Linked DNA regions of Homo sapiens: region 1 is linked to region 2. The links are contacts of gene promoters, found by promoter capture Hi-C in human tissues and cell types (Jung and others, 2019). All regions are on one chromosome and are shown on one strand. The core of a region is centred on a gene start or on the middle of the fragment in contact, and the rest is flanking DNA. Distances in the headings are between cores, read along the strand shown. Region 1 has its middle 17 kb from the start of FBP1. Region 2 holds the start of HSD17B3 (hydroxysteroid 17-beta dehydrogenase 3).

Evidence for each region. Contacts are between HindIII fragments. The study calls those that stand out against the background at their distance.
Region 1: a fragment that was not itself captured here is called in contact with the fragment with the promoter of HSD17B3 in region 2 in 1 of the 25 tissues and cell types used here (dorsolateral prefrontal cortex).

What each region holds. Positions count from the first base shown.
Region 1 is chr9:94,654,152-94,659,683 of GRCh38, reverse strand. No RefSeq gene overlaps it. Among named protein-coding and RNA genes, the nearest start is that of FBP1, 17 kb to the right of the region's middle. The HindIII fragment of the contact is 7,157 bases long and covers 1-5,477 here.
Region 2 is chr9:96,298,122-96,304,105 of GRCh38, reverse strand. HSD17B3 (hydroxysteroid 17-beta dehydrogenase 3) reads left to right here and starts at 1,930. Exons shown (of 11, transcript NM_000197.2): 1 at 1,930-2,155; 2 at 5,644-5,690. The coding sequence starts at 2,002. SLC35D2-HSD17B3 (SLC35D2-HSD17B3 readthrough) reads left to right here. Exons shown (of 26, transcript NR_182427.1): 16 at 1,795-2,155; 17 at 5,644-5,690. The HindIII fragment of the contact is 9,231 bases long and covers 1-5,984 here.

The DNA of each region.
Region 1 (5,532 bases), core at 650-3,149, 1.6 Mb after region 2:
AACACTTCACCAAGGAAGCTACATAGCTGGGAAACAAGCACAGGAAAATAGGCTCAACATCGTTGTCATTATAGAAATGCAAATTAAAAATCACCATGAGAGGCTGGGCACAGTGGCTCGTGCCTGTAATCCCAACACTTTGGGAAGTCGAGGTGGGAGGATCACTCGAGCCCAAGAGGTCGAGCCCATGATTGCACCACTGCACTCCAGCCTGGGTGACAGAGTGAGATGCTATCTCACACACACACACACACACACACACACACACACACACACACACACACACAAAATCATAATGAGAACCACTACGACTGTTAAAATAAAAACTTAAGACATTAAATTTAAGAGTTTAATTGAGCAAAGAACGATTCATGAACTGTGTGGCCTCCTGAGCCAGAATAGGTCAGAATAACGCTGGTGGCTGCCACGTGATTGGAGAGGAATTATAGAAAAAGAAAATTGAGTGCAATTTGATAATTGGCACAAGAGTAGGTTATAGTCTGTTTACACATCCAGTTAAGTTATAGTTCACTATGTACAGAGGAAATTAAGGCCCAACTTAAACTATGTATGGAGGCAGCTTTAGGGTAACCTTAGTTAATACCTATTAGAATGGCTAAAATTAAATGACTAATCATACTAGGTGTTGGGAAGATATAGATCACCTGGGAACCTGTAACAATGGTCCCAGGCTAATGGGAATGTAAAATGGTCCAATGGCTTTGGAAAAGTTTGGCAGTTTCTGAAAACGTTCACCATATAGCAGCCTATGACCAGCCATTCCACTACTAGGTATTTTCCCAAAAGAAATGAAAGCATATGTCCACACAAAAACTTGTATACAAATGTCTGCTGCAGCTTTATGTGAAATAACCCCAACCTAGAAAAGGTCCAAATTTCTCAACGATAAACATAAACAGACTGTAGTATATCTGGATGATAGAATGCTACTTAGCAATAAAAAGGGAATAATTATTGATAACTCAAAACAACATAGATAAATCTCAATTATGCTTTGCGAAAGAGCAAAAAAAGAGTACATGTAGTATGATTCCATTTATATAAAATCCTAGAAAATACAAAGTAGTCTATGGTGACAAAAGCAGACCAGTTGTTGCCCGAGTCTGTGTGAGAGGGAAGGGGTGGAGGGAGAGATGACAAAATTACACGAGGAAATTTCTGGGGGCAATGGATAGATATTGCAGGGACCAAGGGAAAAAGCTCCCCTGCATCCTCTAAAAACTTGCTGAAAAATCAATTTATAAAAGGCAGACTAATACTAGAAACAGCATACAAATTTATCAACGTGCATGGAGGGAAAATCACAGAAAGATGACCCCAACCCCCACGGGTGCAGAAGCTTGTGTATCTCCTCGAGGTTACAGAGAGAACAGGGGATCTGAGGGTGGCCCACAGTGGGTTAAGATGGCAAGTCGGGGGGGCCAGGTGCGGTGGCTCACGCCTGTAATCCCAACAGTTTGGGAGGCTGAGGCGGGTGGATCACCTGCGATCAGGAGTTCGAGAGCAGCCTGGCCAACATGGTGAAACCCTGTCTCTACTAAAAATACAAAAATACCAAAAAAAAAAAATAGCTGGGCGTGGTGGCATGCACTTGTAGTCACAGCTACTCGGGAGGCTGAGACAGGAGAATCGCTTGAACCTAGGAGGTAAAGGTTGCAGTGAGCCGAGGTCACACCACTGCACTTCAGCACCTCAGCATGGGCAATAGAGCGAGACTCCGTCTCAAAAAAAAGAAAAGAAAAAAAAGATGACAAATCAGCTTATGGCAGGGGCAGAAGAGGAGGCCTGGCTCACAAAGATGGTCTCTATGGACGCAAACCTCCCCCAGCAAGACAGCTTTTCAGCTATTCTTGGATTTCTAGCCCTTTTGAATAGCCATCTTAAAATATGCCAAAAAGTATATTTTGGAGTGAAATATTTTCATTTCCTTCAATATACTTATTATTCTGATTGTGGTGGTAGTTCCATGGGTATAGACATGTGAAAACATACCAAAGTGTGTATTTTCAGTGTGTGCAGTTTCTTGTCTGTTAATTGCACCTTGATGAAGCTGTTTTGAAAAAGGAAGATCTTCTTAGGATTCCTCACTTCCTGTGACTCTCCCACAGCAGCTGGGGGAATGGGCCAAGAGCAGAATCTGGTGACAAAGTAGCCTTGGGTGGCTTGGTTGGCCACACACGCCACTGAAAGCACCTCTCCCAGGAATCCAGTCGCCTCCAGTGCCTGCTGAAGCAAGAAAACCCTCCAAAGGATGACTCCAGCTGTGTCTGCATCATAATTAAGGCTGCAAAAACCCAAAATGAATGAAGTCTCCCCAGCTAATGTGCCACTTCTAATTTAATCTAATTGGCCTCTGAAAGAGAGCCTTGGCCTGCCTCAGAGGCAAAATCTTCCAAATGAAGTGAATTTAAACTAATTTAAGCTAACTAATTACAAACTGGGGGGTATTGTCACAAGACAATTGTTATTGTTCTTTGATTGCTTGCTCAACTGGATTATTTGCTCATTACCTTCAGAGCTGTTGGGACTTTCATGGGGTGCCCCTTGCCGCACATCAATAAGGCATTCTACAAGGCAGCCTGGAGTGGAGGGTCCCCACACCAGATTGGCATGGGAGCGCTGAGGATTAGCTTGGCTTTCTGCGTGTTTGGAGAATCTTAAAGCAAATGCACAGCATGTGCTGCTCATTCAAATAACCTGCAGCTAACTACACCTCTTTTTGGAGACGTAAGTTTTTCTTTAGCTTCGGGATGTAGGTTATGAGTTTTGAGGTCATCTGTTGAACCAACCTCTTTATTGTTCAGTCGTTCTGACCTTGAGATGCAGCTCGTTATACCTGGGTAGAGATCTGAAGCAAAAGTGGGGAGAAAAAAAAGACCTGTATCCAAGCCTGTTTCTCAGCAGCTGTGTGAGGTAGCTGTGCTGCCACACCTCTCTGAGCCACAGGCAGAGATCTGGTGGAAAACGCATGAAATTTGCAGACCCATCTATCTGCTGCTTCTGGTTTGAGCTTCAGTTCCCTCCTCCCAGGCATGTTAAATTTAGCCTACAGCTGCCTCCTTACTTATTTTAAGTGTAACAAATGTTATGTTACATTTGGGACCTGTGTGGCTAAAGGCTTCTCTGCACAAAGGGAACTGTCACTTAACTGGATGTGAAAGGGGCTGTAACCTACTCTTGTGACAAGCAACCATACTTCAACCACTCACAGGTGGCCAAGTCTTCCAACTGTGTTCGAGTAAGGCCAACGCTGAGCTGTAGCCAATCAGGCTGTTTCTCTGCCTCACTTCTGTTTTCTGTGCTTCACTTTCCGTTCTCTGCCCGTAAAGACTCTCACCACACGGCAGCACCAGAGACGCTCTGAACCTCTTCTGGTCAGGGGGCTGCCTGATTCCCATATCATTCTTTGCTCAATTAAACTCTGTTAAATGTAGTTTGCCTCAGTTTTCCTTTTAACAGGCAGAAACTACCACCTCACAGAATTGCTATGAAGACTGAACATGGTCACTCTGTGAAAACATTTCATAAACTGTGTGTCGCTTGCGAATGCTGTTATTTTTCTCATCTGTAAAATAAAGGAATTCAACCAGGGGATTTGAATAGTTTCTGTATTCATTTCCTGTGGCTGCCATAACCAAGCACCACAAATCGGGTGGTTCATAGCCACAGAACTGTGTCCTCCTGCGGTTCTGGAAGCCGAGTCTGAAATGAAGGTGGCGGCAGGGCTGTCCTTCCTCTGACGGCTCAGGACGAGTCCTCTCCTGCCTCCTCCAGCTCCAGGCGCTCCTCAGCATGTGGCTGCTTCGCTGGGTCTCTGTCCCACCTCCACATCACCTTCTGCTCTGTGTGTTTCAAATCTCTCTCTGCCTTTCTCTTGTGAGGACACTTGTAATTGGGTTTAGGGCTCACCTGGGTAATTCAGGATGATCACATGGCAACAGCCTTCACTTGATTACATCTTCAAAGACCCCATTTCCCAAATAAGGCCACCATCCCAGATTCTGGGTGGACACTGTGGGCAGTGGCACCATATTCAGCCCACTGCAGCCCTCCTTAGCTCTGTGGTCCTATCTTCTTCTGGATGTTACCATTTGGTCTAAATTTCAACCAGTCTGAGTTGCATATTGAGTGGTACAAAAGCAATGGCCACATTTGATGTTTCTTGTCTGAGAATGTATGTTTCTTCAATATTTCCATGAAAAATATGCATCGAATATTTTACTACGGTAGGAGTAGGGGCCAAGTATAGGGCAAAAACTTATTGATTACAAGTTTATGCAAATTAGACAGCAAAATGAAAATTTCAAGCAGCCTTGGCACTACAACAAAAAAGTCTGTCTAGCAAGAGATTGGATTTAATTATTAAGAAAGTTGGGGGCCGGGCCTGGTGGCTCATGACAGTAATCCCAGCACTTTGGGAGGCTGAGGTGGGTGGATCACCCGAGGTGGGGAATTTGAGACAAGCCTGACCAACATGGAGAAACCCTGTCTCTCCCAAAAATACAAAAATTAGCTGGATACGGTGGCACATGCCTGTAATCCCAGCTACTCGGGAGGCTGAGGCAGGAGAATCGCTTGAACCCAGGAGGTGGAGGTTGCGGTGAACCGAGATTGCACTATTGCACGCCAGCCTGGGCAACAAGAGCGAAACTCTGTCTCAAAAAAAAAAAGAAAAAAGAAAAAGAAAGAAAGTTGGGAGAGTGACTGTCCCACTGTGCTGTTTGATAGAATCAGTGTCTCTGGGTTAGTGGCTTTTGGCAGATGTCTGCTAGTCTAAAAAGCCACAGTTGAGGGTAGAAAGAAGAAGATTCTAGAAAGAATGCTCATAATGGACAATAATAGCTCTTTCTACTTCCGGGGAATCTTTCCATTTGGGAACACTGAAGTGCTTTGCAGACAGTCGTTACAATTACACAAGCGTTGGGATGTCCATGTTCTCGCTTCCTCATGTTAGACATTGAGCCACTGAGGAAGTCTAAGGACATGGGGTGTGTCATTGGAGAAGTGCCCCTAGCTGACTGTTGAGGGTAAGCAGAGCCACAGCCTCCAGATTTTATTCAAGGTGAAATGGACATTGGGTGAGCTCTCTTGTTCTCAGATGATCTGCTTTATAGTACAGGACTAGGGCCATAGCAGTTGCCATCAAAGTGGCTGGATTTCAATTACCTCCAGCCTGTGGACTGACAAGGTCTGGGTCGACTGTCCCTCCCTCCCTTAGGCTGGACGTGCTGAGGCACATGTGATGGGGAGTTGCTGGGCTGGTGACCACCTGACATGTCCTCTCTGTACTTCCTTCCCCAGCATCACTGCCCACCAGTTCCTGCTCTAGCCAATGACTCAGTCTCAGCGCACCCACTCGTCAGTACTCGCATGGAGAAGAACTCTGACTTCTCTGATTTCTGTTCCAAGAAGGCGGTACATGGACAGCAGTCCTCTTGGAGGACTATGGAGATGGCTCTTGATGGGCCTTGGAGAGGGGCTCCAGCTCTGAGGACTGTGCTCTGGGACTTG
Region 2 (5,984 bases), core at 681-3,180:
GTCCTGAAACCATCTCTAAATACAGAGAAGGGAAAGACCAAAAACCACATAGAAAAACGGGCAGGAGAGAGAAAATTCACAAAGAAAACAGTGAAAATAGCTCTTAGGCTTAAGAAAATCTCTCCAACCTGGCTGATAAGATAATTTAAACTTAAAACAACATTGGATGCTACTTCTTACCTACTGGGTGGCAAAAGTCCCAAAGCTTGACAACATGCTTTACTGCTAAGGCAGTGGGAAAACGAACATGCTCACGTGTTGTTGGCGTGAATGCAAAATGAAGGCAAATCTGACAATATCTAGCATAAAGACGTATGAATCTATGTTCTGGCCAGCAATTCTGCTTCTAGGGTGAGCGCAAGGCTGTTGATTGCAGCACAGAGTGAGCTGAGAGTGAGCACAGGCAGAAATGAGAGAAGGCCAAGGACTGATCCTGTGGCCTCTGCAGGGATGACTTCAGTATCCTGGCTGCCCTTGCTTCAGTTGTCACACCCACCCTCCATCCCACCCCCAGAAGGACATCTTCCCTCAGCATCCAGTGGCCTTTTAAAAGCATAATTCAGAGTATAGAACTCTGTTTCCTAAATCTGTGCAATGGCTTCTGGTTGCTCTGAAAGTCCACACTCACCCGTAGGGCATGGCTCCTCCCTCCTGCTCTGGCCTTTTCCTCCCTTACTCTCTGTGGCCAGTCCCTCTGCTGTGTTGTCCTAGTGTTTTTTTTTTTTTTGAGATGGAGTCTTGCTCTGTCGCCCAGACTGGAGTGCAGTGGCACAATCTCAGCTCACTGCAACTTCCACCTCCCAGGTTCAAGCGATTCTCCTGCCTCAGCCTCCGAAGTAGTTAAGATTACAGGCATGCTCCACCACACCCAGCTAATTATTGTATTTTTAGTAGGTCTCAATCTCCTGACCTTGTGATCCGCCTGCCTCGGCCTCCCAAAGTGCTGGGATTACAGGCGTGAGCCACCATGCCTGTCCTGTCCTAGTTCTTATTCCTCAAATACGTGGATTTTTCTCACTTCAGGCATTGTACTAGCCGTTCCATTAGCCTGGAGGGGGAAACTCATCTTTGCGGAGCTGGCTCCTTTTCATTCAAATTTCAACTAAAAATGCCACCTCTTCATGGAATTCCTTCCTGAACACCCTCTCTGAAGCATTCCCTGAGTAGCTACTCAAACACATCATTCAATAGTGCTTTTTCATAGCACTGATGTTATCTTTTTTTTTTTTTTGAGACAGAATCTCACTCTGTCACCCAGGCTGGAGTGCAATGGCGTGATCTTGGCTCACTGCAACCTCCGCCTCCCAAGTTCAAGTGATTCTCCTGCCTCAGCCTCCCAAGTAGCTGGGATTACAGGTGCCCACCACCAGGCCTGGCTAATTTTTGTATTTTAAGTAGAGATGAGGTTTCACCATGTTGGCCAGGCTGGTCTTGAACTCTTGACTTCATGTGACCCGCCTGCCTTGGCTTCCCAAAATGTTGGGATTATGGGCGTGAGCCACTGCCCCATCTGATGTTATCTTATTTATCTGCTCATCATCTGTCCCTGCTACCAGAATCTAAGCTCCAAACCAGAGAGACCCTCTGTGGTCACTATTAACTTCCTAATGCCTTCAAGAGGGGACTCCACCTGGTAGGCAGTCAATACATAGTGCTAAATGTATGAATAATTGCCTTGGATTCTGCATCCTTTTTAACTTTCCCAAATTCAGGGAGAGAACTGTGGGCTGCCATTTTATATTTGTCCAGGCTTTGTTTTTTTCCCTTCATGTCCACCTTTTACTTTTTCACCAGCTCCTCCACAGTAACAAAAGCCTTATTCAAAGGCCTGTGAGTCAGAGGATTATGTAAAGAAGTTACTTTAATCTAGATGCCCCTGACTTGATGGAACACGTCCAGTGACTCCTGGAAGAAGATCTGGAGGTCTCCAGAGCAGCGTGGTCCCAGGAGGCATACACAGAGAGCCACGGCCAGGGCTGAAACAGTCTGTTGAGTGCAGCCATGGGGGACGTCCTGGAACAGTTCTTCATCCTCACAGGGCTGCTGGTGTGCCTGGCCTGCCTGGCGAAGTGCGTGAGATTCTCCAGATGTGTTTTACTGAACTACTGGAAAGTTTTGCCAAAGTCTTTCTTGCGGTCAATGGGACAGTGGGCAGGTAAGGGAGTGTTCCATCTCATGTTTTTTTGCTGCTGTTGTTCCTGCTTGTTACTATTATTATTATTTTTGAGACAGACACTTGCTCTGTCACCCAGGCTGGAGTGCAATGGCGCGATCTTGGCTCACTGCAACCTCCGCTTCCCGGGTTTAAGCAATTCTCCTGCCTCAGCCTCCCAAGTAGCTGGGATTATAGGCGCCTGTCACCACACCTGGCTAATGGTGTTTTTTTTTTTTTTTTGAGACAGAGTCTCACTCTGTTGCCCGGGCTGGAGTGCAGTAGTGCGATCTCTGCTCACTGCAACCTCTGCCTCCTGGGTTCAAGCAATTCTCCTGCCTCGGCCTCCCAAGTAGCTGGGATTACAGGCACACACTACTACGGCTGGCTAATTTTTTGTATTTTAGTAGAGACAGGGTTCCCCCATGTTGGCCAGGCTGGTCTCGAACTCCTGACCTCATGATTTGCCCACTTTAGCCTCTCAAAGTGCTGAGATTACAGGCGTGAGCCACCGCACCCAGCCAACGTTTTGTATTTTTAGTAGAGACAGGGTTTCACCCTGTTGGCTAGGCTGGTCTCAAACTCTTGACCTTGTGATTCACCCGACTCGGCCTCCCCAACGGCTGGGATGACAGGCGTGAGCCACCGCACCCAGCCCCTGCTTATTATTATTTATGTCTCAAAAGGGATATTGCATTTTTTTCTCTTTGAGAGCAAAGAAGTAATTCCTTTGGGTAATTTTAATTGGGGGGATTAGAAAAGTGTGAGTGAAATTAGAATGGTCTGCAACACAAGCTGTAGGGCATTAGGGGAACACTAGGGCAGAAGGCTACCCAGCCCTTGCTAAGCACTTATCCTCTCAACCCCATTAGATGAGTTTTCTTCTTTTGGGAGTTTCCTGCTAATACAAATAATAAATAATGCAGAAATTTCTGCATCCTCATCTCTAAATTTACAAAAAGCCCAGGGTGCTTTCACTTTACTAAAAGGTGTTTCCAAATTTTGAAATCTAAATAATTTTAACTCATTGTATTAAAAAAAGGATCCAAGTGTTTTTAAGAAATGAAGGTGTTACAAAATCAAGGCAACGCATAACTCTATGGAGCCATGTTTTCAGGATGGTATGGAATGGAATCTGGGTCTGGCTGGTGTCAATTAATGCTGCCTCCCCATGGGATTTATCTACTGGAACGCCCATGCAGAACTTCAGCCCTATGACTGAAGTTAAGGTGAAGAGCATGAGGCCATGGTTTCAGCATCTCCTTGAATATCTGAAATGCTAAAGTCTTTGCAGGGCCTTATATTTCAAATTTGGACACACACACACACACACACACACACACACAAAGAATCCAATGACAAAAATGATTAAGTGACTTTAGAGATATTATCTAGGCAAAATAGGAAAGATTCTAATATGCTTATAGGGCTGCCAGATAAAATACAGGATACCCAGTTAAATTTAAATTTCAGAAAAAAAGGAATACTTTTTTAGTATAACTCACATATGGCATGAGACATGCATTAAACAATTCATAATTTACCTTAATTTCAAATTTAAGTGGGCATTCTGTATCCTTATTTGCTAAACCTGGCAACCTTAAAAACTTAGCAATGGAAATTAAAAAAATTACCGTGTGAGAAATTGTTTGGGATGACAAATGGATTTTTGACTTCTGCGTCTTATATTTGCTGTGTGCGTGTGTGTGTGTGTGTGTGTGTGTGTGTGTGTGTGTGTGTGTGTCCTCTTGGGGTATTATGCTGTCAGGAGTGAACTTGCTTGAACTTGCTCAGCAGCTTGACCTGAGTGTTCTGGATTTAAATACCCCACTCCACACAGATTCAGATGCCCACGTGTGGGTGGACGTAGCACTCTGCACAGCTGCTGTCGTTTGTGTAGGGAAAGCCCTTCTAAAAACCTACATTCTAAAAGAAGTTCAAATGGGGACAGAGACTAAGAGCATTTGGTGACTCAAAGGAAAAACATGATCTTAACCTGTTTTTATGAGTCAAGATGGATAGAGTTACCTCTAGCAGGAGTAAAATATGTTTGGGCAGAGGCAGATATCAGGGAGATAATATATTTCAAGTAGGGGACAAAAAAGAAACGCAAGAACTAGAGGCTAAATTTTTAATTCCTCAGATAGAGTACCCTGAGCTCTGTGCTGGATTTCCTAATTCTTTTCTTAGTGTATATTCATAGACTCAGGGCCCCAAAGTCAGACAGCCTGGGTTCAAATCCTTGTGTCATCATTTTTAGCAGTGTGACCTTAATCAAGTTACGAACTTTTTCCCCTTGGCTTCCTCATTTATAAACTAAGGATAATGATGGTCCCTGCATTTTAGGTTTGTTTTGAACATTAAATGAGATGATGCATCTAAAACACTAGAAGCAGTACATGGCAAGAAGTGAGTGTGTGACCGTTATCCGTCGTTATTATTGATGGTATCATCTTGCCTGTAGTGTAGGCCCTGTATTGGGTGAATTGAAGATTCCCCACAGGGAGGGGAAGGTAAGGCCCAAGATGCCCTGAGCATAGTTCCTCCACCCAGAGCTGCAGACGGTGTGCATGGAGCCTCTTAGAAGTTCCTAAACGAACAGACACATCATTAGTAATTATTAAAGCCAGTGTGGTCCGTGAGGCTTGTACAGCTTGGCCTGCACTCACTCTCAGGTGAGCTAAATGTACCTTTTGTTCACACTTTTTGAAAGCATGCCCTTTAATTGTTGTTGCAAGGGTAAATTGTAAGTTTTACGATATACCGAATTGTAGTGAATTTTGAAATTGTGACGTTCTCACGAATGAAGCGTATACTAGAGCTCAATCATTAAATATGTCTGTAATGTTGATATGAAAGGACTAGCAGACCTATTTGACTGTTGTATATTAACAGATAGTTCTATTGAGTACAAATTCTTCAGGTTTCTTCATTTCACTGCATTTTCTTTTTGCATTTTGGTATTTTCCTCTTTGCTAAATTCCCTACCTTCCATAGGCCTTTAATTGCTGCTGTGGGGTGGGGGTGAGAAGTGGGCAGAGCTCCACTTTTAGAAGGAACCTTGAAATGTCCTTACAATGACAGATGGGTGCCTGGGCAGAGAGATAATGGGGAACACTGCCTGCCCTTGTGGGGTGAAGGCTCACAATATCTGCATCCTCATGGGGCCTGCAGGAAATGTTCCCTGGCTGCGGATCTGTTTCATTTTGGAACATGTTTTCCACAGTCTCGCCAATCCCTCCAAAACACCAACTAACCAACCAACCAACCAACCAACAAACCAACCAACCAACCAACCCACCCACCAACCAAACAATCCTTTCACCTGAATGTTTAGTGAGGGGCTTCAAGGGCGTGGGCTGGAGAGCAAAGGGATGAACCTTTGGAGTACTGACTGCCCTGGAGACTAGGCTTGTGAGAAAACGTGGCCAGTGAGAAAGAGAAGTTTAAAGATGAATTCTGTCTTTTAAAAGCATTCTTGCTTTTCACAGTGATCACTGGAGCAGGCGATGGAATTGGGAAAGCGTACTCGTTCGAGGTAAGCTATCTTCCTGGGGACTTTCTCCTCCCTTGTATTGAACAATCACAGTCCTGAGACATCCACCCCAACACTAGATTTTTGAATATAAAAGCAGTATGCATTCATTTAAAGGAGAAAATATACTCTATGGAAAAGCAAACAAAAATAATAATCTCACTCCCTGGATCTCTTTTTTTAAACACAATGATATTCAAAGGTGACAGTACCTTGCCTTAGGGATTGTTTTGGGAATTTGTGGGGCATTGGTATTTTCTAGTGTAATTGTGCCATATCAGCTTATATACTTTAATT